Linked DNA regions of Homo sapiens: all the other regions are linked to region 3. The links are contacts of gene promoters, found by promoter capture Hi-C in human tissues and cell types (Jung and others, 2019). All regions are on one chromosome and are shown on one strand. The core of a region is centred on a gene start or on the middle of the fragment in contact, and the rest is flanking DNA. Distances in the headings are between cores, read along the strand shown.

The links. The method cuts DNA at HindIII sites, captures the fragments that hold promoters and counts their contacts. A contact is called where the count stands out against the background at its distance.
Region 1: a contact is called between a fragment that was not itself captured here and the fragment with the promoter of NUP214 in region 3, in 2 of the 25 tissues and cell types used here (dorsolateral prefrontal cortex and spleen).
Region 2: a contact is called between a fragment that was not itself captured here and the fragment with the promoter of NUP214 in region 3, in 1 of the 25 tissues and cell types used here (heart left ventricle).

What each region holds. Positions count from the first base shown.
Region 1 is chr9:131,484,813-131,487,684 of GRCh38, reverse strand. It overlaps PRRC2B (proline rich coiled-coil 2B), which reads right to left. Exons shown (of 32, transcript NM_013318.4): 25 at 2,545-2,737; 26 at 1,503-1,600; 27 at 391-518. SNORD62A (small nucleolar RNA, C/D box 62A) reads right to left here and starts at 2,020; the gene lies at 1,935-2,020. The HindIII fragment of the contact is 7,477 bases long and covers 1-2,872 here.
Region 2 is chr9:131,429,396-131,432,672 of GRCh38, reverse strand. It overlaps PRRC2B (proline rich coiled-coil 2B), which reads right to left. Exons shown (of 32, transcript NM_013318.4): 2 at 2,414-2,579; 3 at 1-56. The coding sequence starts at 2,528. Among named protein-coding and RNA genes, the nearest start is that of PRRC2B, 37 kb to the right of the region's middle. The HindIII fragment of the contact is 4,521 bases long and covers 1-3,277 here.
Region 3 is chr9:131,124,076-131,127,241 of GRCh38, reverse strand. It overlaps NUP214 (nucleoporin 214), which reads right to left and starts at 1,656. Exons shown (of 36, transcript NM_005085.4): 1 at 1,493-1,656. The coding sequence starts at 1,537. It also overlaps the pseudogene RNU6-881P. RefSeq lists an enhancer at 1,458-1,757. The HindIII fragment of the contact is 5,493 bases long and covers 1-3,166 here.

The sequences.
Region 1 (2,872 bases), core at 178-2,677, 360 kb before region 3:
GCTGATGCTGCTGGATTAAACAAGTGAAGACATCCAGGCTGTACGAGGCACAGGACATCAGCCACAATGACTGGCAGCCACACTGACGGAGAAGCCCGCGGTGGGGAGGAGACAGGGAGTCAAGGGGAGAGGAGGAGGAAGGAGCAAGGAAAGGAGGCAAGATGACATGGAAAAGCAAAACACGGCCCACCACATATCAGCTCGCCCCAGGCCTCTCCTAGAGCACAGTTAACAACGGACTGAAGAGTGATTCAGAGCAAACTCCCACCCCTCCCCGCCCCACTGGCCCCAAAGCAGACAAGCACCAAACAGCTGCAGGACGAAGGCTGCACACAGGGCCAAGGCCCTGGCTGTGAGCTGCCAGCTCCGCAAGCTGGTACATGAGCTCACCTGAAGGGCTGCAAGGAGCTGAAGATCTCCTGGGACTGGGACACAGGAAGCCCACCCCTCAGTCCAAGCTGAGCTTGTGCCTGCAGAGATGTGTGAAGGGAGATCGGGATCTGCTGGGCAGCGGCGGCCTGTGAACGGGAAAACGGGGTCGGGGAGGTAACCGCAAGGCCCATCCAGGTGGTTCTTCCCCTCCCACCTCCCCTGCCCCTCTCCACATGGCTGCTGGAACACTGCCCAAAATTCAAATGCCAGCATGTCATTCCTGGGCTTCCCTTGCTATTGGGATAAAGCCTATAATGAAAAACTGGTAGCAACCCCAAACCACAGCATATCCCTACCCTGGAATTCTACACAGCAACAAAAATGGATCCTAGCACATACGTCAACAGAGGTGAGTTCCAAAAACATAACGCTGAATTTAACAATGCACAAAAAGAAAGATACATGCAGTCTGACCCAGTTATGCAAGAACCAAAATCTTGGTAACCAAACAATACAGCAGTTAAGAACATGTTTTTAAAAAGAGGTCAGCAGAGGCCACATCCTCCATCAGCAAGCCTGCACTTGGAGCAGATTCTGCCTGGAAGTCCACTGTCGTGGCTGTGGAGGCACATGGGTCTGAGGGGCGGCTAGACCATCCCAAAGGCCCAGCACCAGCATTAGAGGGGAGACTTCCAAAAATCACCCCTTGGCAGCACAGAAAGTATGCCAGTCCTGCATAAATAACCAACGCCTGCTCATTTCTAAGACTACCTCTTTCTAATGCATCCATGCCTGGGAGTTTAGGCCTTTCTTCTCTTCATCAGAAGGATACCTGATCACCAAAGAAAATTCCATTTTAGCTAATTCCCCGGCTAGGACACAGGAGGGAGAACTTTGAGAAAGGAAAACTAAGCAGAGTCTGGAGCAGCCAACTCCACTCCTCTTCCCTGTCTCGATTATTCGCTTAACAAATGCCTCCTGGCTGCCGTGGCGGGCCAGGTGCTGGTCACCACATGTGAGGGGGATGGAAAACCAGACAGACAATGAGAAATAGATGAGCAAGCCAATTCCGCCCTGCACTGGCTCCTCCCCACCACCCCCAGCCAGGCCACCTGGCTAGCTGCTGTCACCTGTTGGTAACTCTGCTGCTGAGGTATCGTTTGAGGAACCAGCCGGGGCTGACTTGCAAACACATGGCCATCCAGGTACAGGGGCGGGAGGTGGCTGCCTGGAAACAGAGCGGCAAAAGGGACGTAGAAGAGGATCAAGCCTCACTACTTCTCAATGTCCCTGAGGGAAACAGTCTACAGGTCTGCTCTACCCAGGGGACTCAGTGGGGACGAGGGCGTGTGTACAGAGGCTGCTAGGTTCCCTGTGTGCCGGAAGCACACGCCTGCTCACAACACGCCTGGCACGCACCTCAGGGAACGTAGGGAGGGTGCAGCGTCAGACCTAGGAGGAGGGAGGAGGCAGGTGGGCTCTGGCCTACCCTTCCCACCTCCCACTCACCAACTACCCCAGACACTCGAAGGGGCATTCTACTTTAACCAGGGCTGCCTTGGTCTCTCAGTCACTGTCCTCTTCATCTCCCTGCTATTGAGTCCACAGTGGAGGGTCAGAAGGATCTATTGGAATTACATCACTGAGACTGGCAGCTGGGCCCTCAAAACCCCCACGCTTCCCCTTGGGGACACTGGCACACGATAAGGATGGCAGCAATCAGGACAAAAGTAGCTGCCAGTGACTGAGGGCTCTGTTGATACAAAGCCCTTTCCAGGTAAGACCTGGCCTCACGGGTGTGGCCACCCCACGGAGTTTCATGTAAGAGAGGAGAGGACACTGTGGCTCGGCAAGAGCTGCTCACCAGCCGAGGCGACACGGCTCCAGCACATGACCCAGGTCTGACTCAAAGTCAAGCCTTTGCTCGCTCCTGTCACCAGTAGGCAGGAGTGCCTCGCTGTTATCCCCCAGTTCTGTTTCCCAGCGTGGGGAAGCAGGACGTGCACATTACCTGCAGCACATGGGAGCTACGACCACTGGGCCTAAAAACAAGTTGCTACTTCTACATGCTACTTAAGACAAGGCCAGGAGGTGACATTCGGGGCTGTTAATCCGTTTTTCTTGATAATAAATGGAGAAGGACCCCAAGGCCTTGCTCAGGGGATGAGATACCTGGCATAGAAGCAGAAGGTGCTACAGAGGCCACAGGCATGGGTGGCATGGACACTCCACCGAAGGAGCTGTAGTTGACCCCGCTGGAGGCACCCACAGAGGATGGAGGCTGGATGCCTGAGCCAGCGCCGCCTGGAGAGCTCTGCTCCGGCAAACTGGGGGAGTTTTCCCAAGCCTTGCGCGCAGACTCCATCTTCAGAAGCAAGGGGAGGGGGAGGGATGAAAATTACTATCACGCTGGCAGTGGACAGAGCCAATCTAAGCTTTAGGGGTTCGGGGACTCCTCCCTTCTGCCTCTTTGTAAGCTAAGGTACTGGGTGGGCCCTCA
Region 2 (3,277 bases), core at 54-2,553, 310 kb before region 3:
CATGCGCCGGGCTGCAGCAACTTTCCCAAGACTCTGTAAGCCATGTCTAGGAATAACTGCAGGGAGAGGGACATGGAACAGACACCATGCAAAAAGGTCACAGAAGGAAAGAAGCCTGATGCATTCAGCTGTTCTTTCAATCTCTAAGTGATCATAACAAAGCTAACCCAACAAAAAACAAAGGGCAGACCAGCAGTGGGACAAACAAGTGTTTGGTGTCACTTTAGTCACTTTACAAGCTCTTCACTGAAGACTACAGGGACAAAGGAGCTGCTAAAACCTGTAAAAAGGCTTCCATTTCACTGATGGGCAGGACAAGGCTCGCAGACTTTACAACATGGGTGAGGAGACAGGCCCAGGAACCTCCAGCTTACAGAGGAACCACCTCTCTGCAAGTTGAGACAGCTCTGGTCTCATTACAGGACTAAAGGGACAGCCTCTGCCTAGATCCAAAACAAGACTGAACAGGAGCCCTTCGACATTCATGAAGTCTTCATGGGGTGTGAAAAGGATCAACAAGAACCTTTCCAACAAGTTCTAGAATATCAAGAACCATGAAAGCTAAAAAGGCTGATAACACACCAGGCGTGGTGGCTCACACGTGTAATTGCAGCACTTTGGGAGGCCGAGGTGGGTAGATCGCTTGAGCCCAGGAGTTCGAGACCAGCCTGGGCAATGTGACAAAACCCTGTCTCTACTAAAAATACAAAAATTAGCCAGTCTCATAACCCAGTCTCTAAATAAATAAATAAATTTTAAAACAAAATTTAAAAAATTCTTTAAGGATGGCCGGGCGCGGTGGCTCATGCCTGTAATCTCAGCACTTTGGGAGGCCGAGGCGGGCGGATCACGAGGTCAGGAGATCGAGACCATCCTCGCTAACACGGTGAAACCCTGTCTCTACTAAAAATACAAAAAATTAGCCGGGAGTGATGGCGGGCGCCTGTAGTCCCAGCCACTCAGGAGGCTGAGGCGGAAGAATGGCGTGAACCCAGGAGGTGGAGCTTGCAGTGAGCCGAGATTGCGCCACTGCACTCCATCCAGCCTGAGCAACAGAGTGAGACTCCGTCTCAAAAAAAAAAAAAAATTCTTTATTAAGGATAACACTGGCCAGGCGCAGTGGCTCATGCCTGTAATCCCAGCACCCTGGGAGGCCGAGGTGGGTGGATCACCTAAGGTCGGGAGTTCGAGACCAGCCTGACCAACATGGAGAAACCCCATCTCTATTAAAAATACAAAATTAGGCTGGGCACGGTGGCTCACGCCTGTAATCCCAGCACTTTGGGAGGCCGAGGCAAGCCGATCACGAGGTCAGGAGATCAAGACCGATCTGGCTAACACGGTGAAACCCCGTCTCTACTAAAAATACAAAAAATTAGCCAGGCATGATGGTGGGCGCCTGTCGTCCCAGCTACTTGGGAGGCTGAGGCAGGAGAATGGCGTGAACCCGGGAGGCAGAGCTTACAGTGAGCCAAGATCACACCACTGCACTCCACCCTGCATGACAGAGTGAGACTCCGTCTCAAAAAAGAAAAACAAAAAACAAAAAGCAAAATTAGCCGGGCGTGGTGGCACATGCCTGTAATCCCAGCTACTCAGGAGGCTGAGGCAGGAGAATCACTTGAACCTAGGAGGTGAAGGTTGCACTGAGCTGAGATCACGCCATTGCACTCCAGCATGGGCAATAAGAGCGAAACTGTGTCTCAAAAAAAAAAAAAAAGGATAACACTAATGCCTATTAAGTCCCATTCTACCCATCAGGATAAAAATCCACAGCTTTGGCCAGGCACAGTGGCTCACACCTGTAATCCCAGCACTTTGGGAGGCCGAGGCGGGTGGATCACCTGAGGTCACGAGTTTGAGACCAGCCTCACTAACATGGGGAAACCCCATCTCTACTAAAAATACAAAAATTAGCTGGGCGTGGTGGCACACATCTGTAATCCTTGCTACTCGGGAGGCTGAGGCAAGAGACTCGCTTGAGCCCAGAAGGTGGAGGTTGCAATGAGCTGAGATCATGCCACTGAACTCCAGCCTGGGTGACAGAGTGAGACTCTGTCTCCAAAACATATATATACACACACACACACACACACACACACACACACACATACACACACACCTATAGATATCTATAGATAGATATCTATCTATCTATCTATAGATATCTATAGATATATCTCCCCAGCTTCAATAAGGTAATAGATGGAGAAAATTCCACTACAGAAAGAGTCAGGATGCTCAAGGCTCTGAAATCATACCTCAAGTAGGAAGTAGAGAGTGATTCTACATGCACACCCAGAAGCCTGGTGTGCACGGACCACATCTGTCTAACCAGGTGAGGGACTCTGGGTTTCTGGGATATGTCACTCGGAGAAAGTTTGAGGAACTGGCCTTCAACCCTGGGCCTTACCTGAGGATCTAATCGCGTCTACTGATTTTCCTTTATACTTATCAAACAGGCTGAGAGTCGAGTACTTGCTTTTCCCATCCTTGCCCTTGGTAATTTGCCCCAAACGATCGGACATTGCGATGAAATGTCATCTAGTAAGGAAATTTTTCTCGGCACCGCTCCCGATCTGCCTTTGAAATAGAGAAGAAAAAAAAAAAAAGAGAGAGAAAAAAAAAAAAGAGTGTCACTACAGCAGAACCTCTGATCCAGAGGAGTGAATCCTTCACGAATCATGGATCTCCTTGAAGATCTGAAGATGGCTTTGGACTGTCCTTAGAAAACTGCTCTCACCACCCACAGGCTGTTCATTCACATTTACAGGGCATTTATGTAGACACCCCGAGGCGATCTGTGGAGTACCCCCCCAACCCCCACCTGCTGTTAATTCCTCTCACTCTGAGTTGGCTGGAGTCTACTGCACACCAACCACACTGACATGTAAACTTCAACAGAGCCCTCTCCAAGTCAAGGACAGCTCAAGATGGAAAAATAAATGCTCAGTACTTTAACACATCCATGTATAACACTGAAAATAAGGCTAGCAGAATAGGGGAGGTACACAACCCACTTACACCACGGCTGTTCATCTCAAGGGCAAGCAAAACCAAATCAAAGGAGGGCAGCCAGAGTATTATCCTTCAGAAATAATCAAGTATATACACTTTTCAAAATAAACAACTAGTACCCAGAGAGAAAACATCTGCTTAGGCAACAAAAGGGCTCTCTAAGCTACACACATGGAAAACAGAAAGCAAGAACTCCCCAGGGCTAGCAAGGGAGAGACCACATGGGGGCTATGCCATCCGCACTTGCCCCTTTGAAGAG
Region 3 (3,166 bases), core at 407-2,906:
CCATCTAATTTTTGTATTTTTAGTAGACACAGGGTTTCATTATGTTGGCCAGGCTAGTCTCGAACTCCGGACCTCAAGTGATCCATCCACCTCAGCCTCCCAAAGTGCAAGCTCACAGGCATGAGCCACCACACTCGGCCCTCATTTTTTTCTGATATGGAACACTTCATGAATTTGTCTGTCATCCATGTAAAGGGGCCATAATAGTCTTCTCTGCATGATCCCAATTTTATATGTGCTGCCAAAGGGAGTGCGAGATTACCATCTTCTAAGTCTGTGGTTCTATTAATAAAACCTTTTTTTCTTCTACCCCAGCATATCTGAGGAATATGACACAACCCCATTAGGTGGCTCACCACAGGTGGTGATTCTCAAAAAATAATCACTATTCTAGGACAGCACGGTAGCTCACGCCTATAATCCCAGCACTTTGGGAGCCAGAGGAGGGCGGATCACGTTAGGTCAGGAGTTCGAGACCAGCCTGGCCAACATCGTGAAACCCAGTCTCTACCAAATGATATAAAAAATTAGTGGGGCGTGGTGGCAGGCGCCTGTAATACCAGCTACTAGGGAGGTTGAAGCAGGAGAATCGCTTGAGCCGGGGAGGTGGAGGTTGCAGGGAGCCGAGATCATGCCACTGCACTCCAGCTTGGGTGACAGAGCAAGACTCTGTCTCAAAAAAAAAAAAAAATCACTATTCTAAACATGGTATTACTATGCCCTAAATGCATTTTAGTGATTTATTGTTCACACAGATGCCTAAAATCTTCCTGCAACTTACTTCTTTTCACTATTTAAAACAGATGTAGCCCGTCTGTTGTACCCTCATTCTGTCAGAACCCATATAAGAACTATTAAACACACCATCCTGAAGTTATCCCTGGGGGACTCCCACGTTGCTATCACTGGGACCACTTGGCCCTCCCTTTAGGTTCCTGACTTTAGGCTGATATACCGAGGTCAAAATAGTCTTCCTAGTCCAATCAACTAAAGGTTCTGCAGGATGGATGACCTTCCCTGACTCTACGTTAGGCAAGCCCGTATCACCTTACAGAAGTACTGGGAGAGCAAAGGTCTTAAATGATGCTGGCTTTCAGCCCCGCGTCAAATGTGACTTTAGGGAAATTACTTTCCGAGCCTCAACTTACTCCTCTACGTTAACGACTACTTCGTAGGGCTGCCGCGATGACTACCACAGTGCCTGGCACACAGTCAACACTCAATAAACAGCAGTTATTGCCACTATTGTGACCGCCCCAGGAAGTAGCTAGGGTAACTCAACAGCCGTGCACGAGACCAGGATGGGACTGGGAAACTGCATTCGGTGGGGCTATCACGCCAGCGGCGCGGCAGACGCGCTGGTGAGAGCTGTGAACGCGGTAAACTGTTCAAGCAGGAGGCGGGACAGCCAGCACCGCGCTTCGCCTTTCAGCTGGGCTCCAAGGCAACGCCAGGACTAAAGAAGGGAGGGAGGCCCCGGTTAGTCTCTGACCTTCATCTCCCGCTCGGGAATCATGGCATCCATCTCGTCTCCCATCGCGCCGCCCTCAGTGTGTCGAAGCAGCCAACGCTGCCTCCCACGGCCTTGCCCACGGAACCCAGGCCGCTCGACAGCAAACTTCCTCCCCTCAGCGCCAGCGGCGCGCAGTTGACCTCGCATTTCCGGCGCGCTTTGGTGACGTCAAGCTTGGTCAGAGGAAGCCGCGGAACCTAGCGAAGCCGCGCGTTCTTCCGGCCGCCGCTCCCCATTGGCCAGCTCGGGCTGAGTAGTGGCGTGGCCGTGAGGTCCCTGCGCCTGCGCCCTGGATGGTCCTGGTGCCGCTCCCGCCTTCGCAGCCAGCGCGGGCTTACCTAGTGTTAAGTCTCTCTTCTTGGGTGGCCCACGCCTAAGCGACCTATGCTTCTTGTTCTTCTGAAATCTTACAGTTCCCCTTAGATGTAGGTTGGCTATTGGTAGCTTCCGATTCAGATAAGTTTGGAACTTGACAGATGTTTTCGGGGGGCTGCTTTAGAGAGAGGCTTTGGACTATGCAAGGGGAGGAAGGGAGGTTCAGAAAAACGGGGTCGGGGGGTCGGCAGGGACGACTCTTAAAGTGTGGAAGGTGGAAGGCTGGGAGGGGAGATTAAAGGGCACCGAAGACCAGCTTTGTTTGCTCCTATCAAGGTGATCCTTTCCAGAGCAAGAGCCATATCCATGTCTAGTCGCACGAGTTTGTGCCAAGTCCTTTGCAAAAACCTTCAGATGTGGGATCTCATGTAATCTTGAAGACATCTTAGTCGTCCTAGGGGTTATTTATTTAATTGATGAGACGCGGGTGGCTCATGCCTATAATCCCAGCACTTGGGAGGCGGAGACAGGAGGATTGCTTGAGACCAGGAGTTTGAGACCAGCCTCGGCAACATGGCGAGACCCCGTCTCTATAAAAAACAAAACAAAACCACAAAAATTAGCCAGCAGTGATGGCATGCGTATGTAGTCTCAGCTACTCGGGAGGCTGAGGTGGGAGAATTGCCTGAGCCCAGGAGGTTGAGGCTACAGGGAGCTGTGATTGCACCATTGCACTCCAGCCTGGGTGACAGAGCCAGGCCCTGTCTCAAAAAGTAAATAAAAGGCCGGGCGCGGTGGCTCACGCCTGTAATCCCAGCACTTTGCGAGGCCGAGGCGGGCGGATCACGAGGTCAGGAGATGGAGACCATCCTGGCTAACACGGTGAAACCCCGACTCTACTAAAAATACAAAAAATTAGCCGGGCGCGGTGGCGGGCACCTGTAGTCCCAGCTACTCGGGAGGCTGAGGCAGGAGAATGGCGTGAACCCGGGAGGCGGAGGTTGCAGTGAGCAGAGACAGCGCCACTGCAGTCTGGCCTGGGCGAAAGAGCGAGACTCCGTCTCAAAAAAAAAAAAAAAAAAAAAGTAAATAAAAATAGGCTGGGAGCAGTGGCTCACGCCTGTAACCACAGTACTTTGGGAGGCCGAGGTGGGTGGAACACCTGAGGTCAGGAGCTCGAGACCAGCCTGGCCAACATGGTGAAACCCCGTCTCTGCTAAAAATACAACAATTAGCCGGGTGTGGTGGCGGACGCCTGTGTTCCCAGCTATACAGGAGGCTGAGGCAGGAGAATCGCATGAACACAAAAGGTGGAGGTTGCAGTGAGCTAAGATTGTG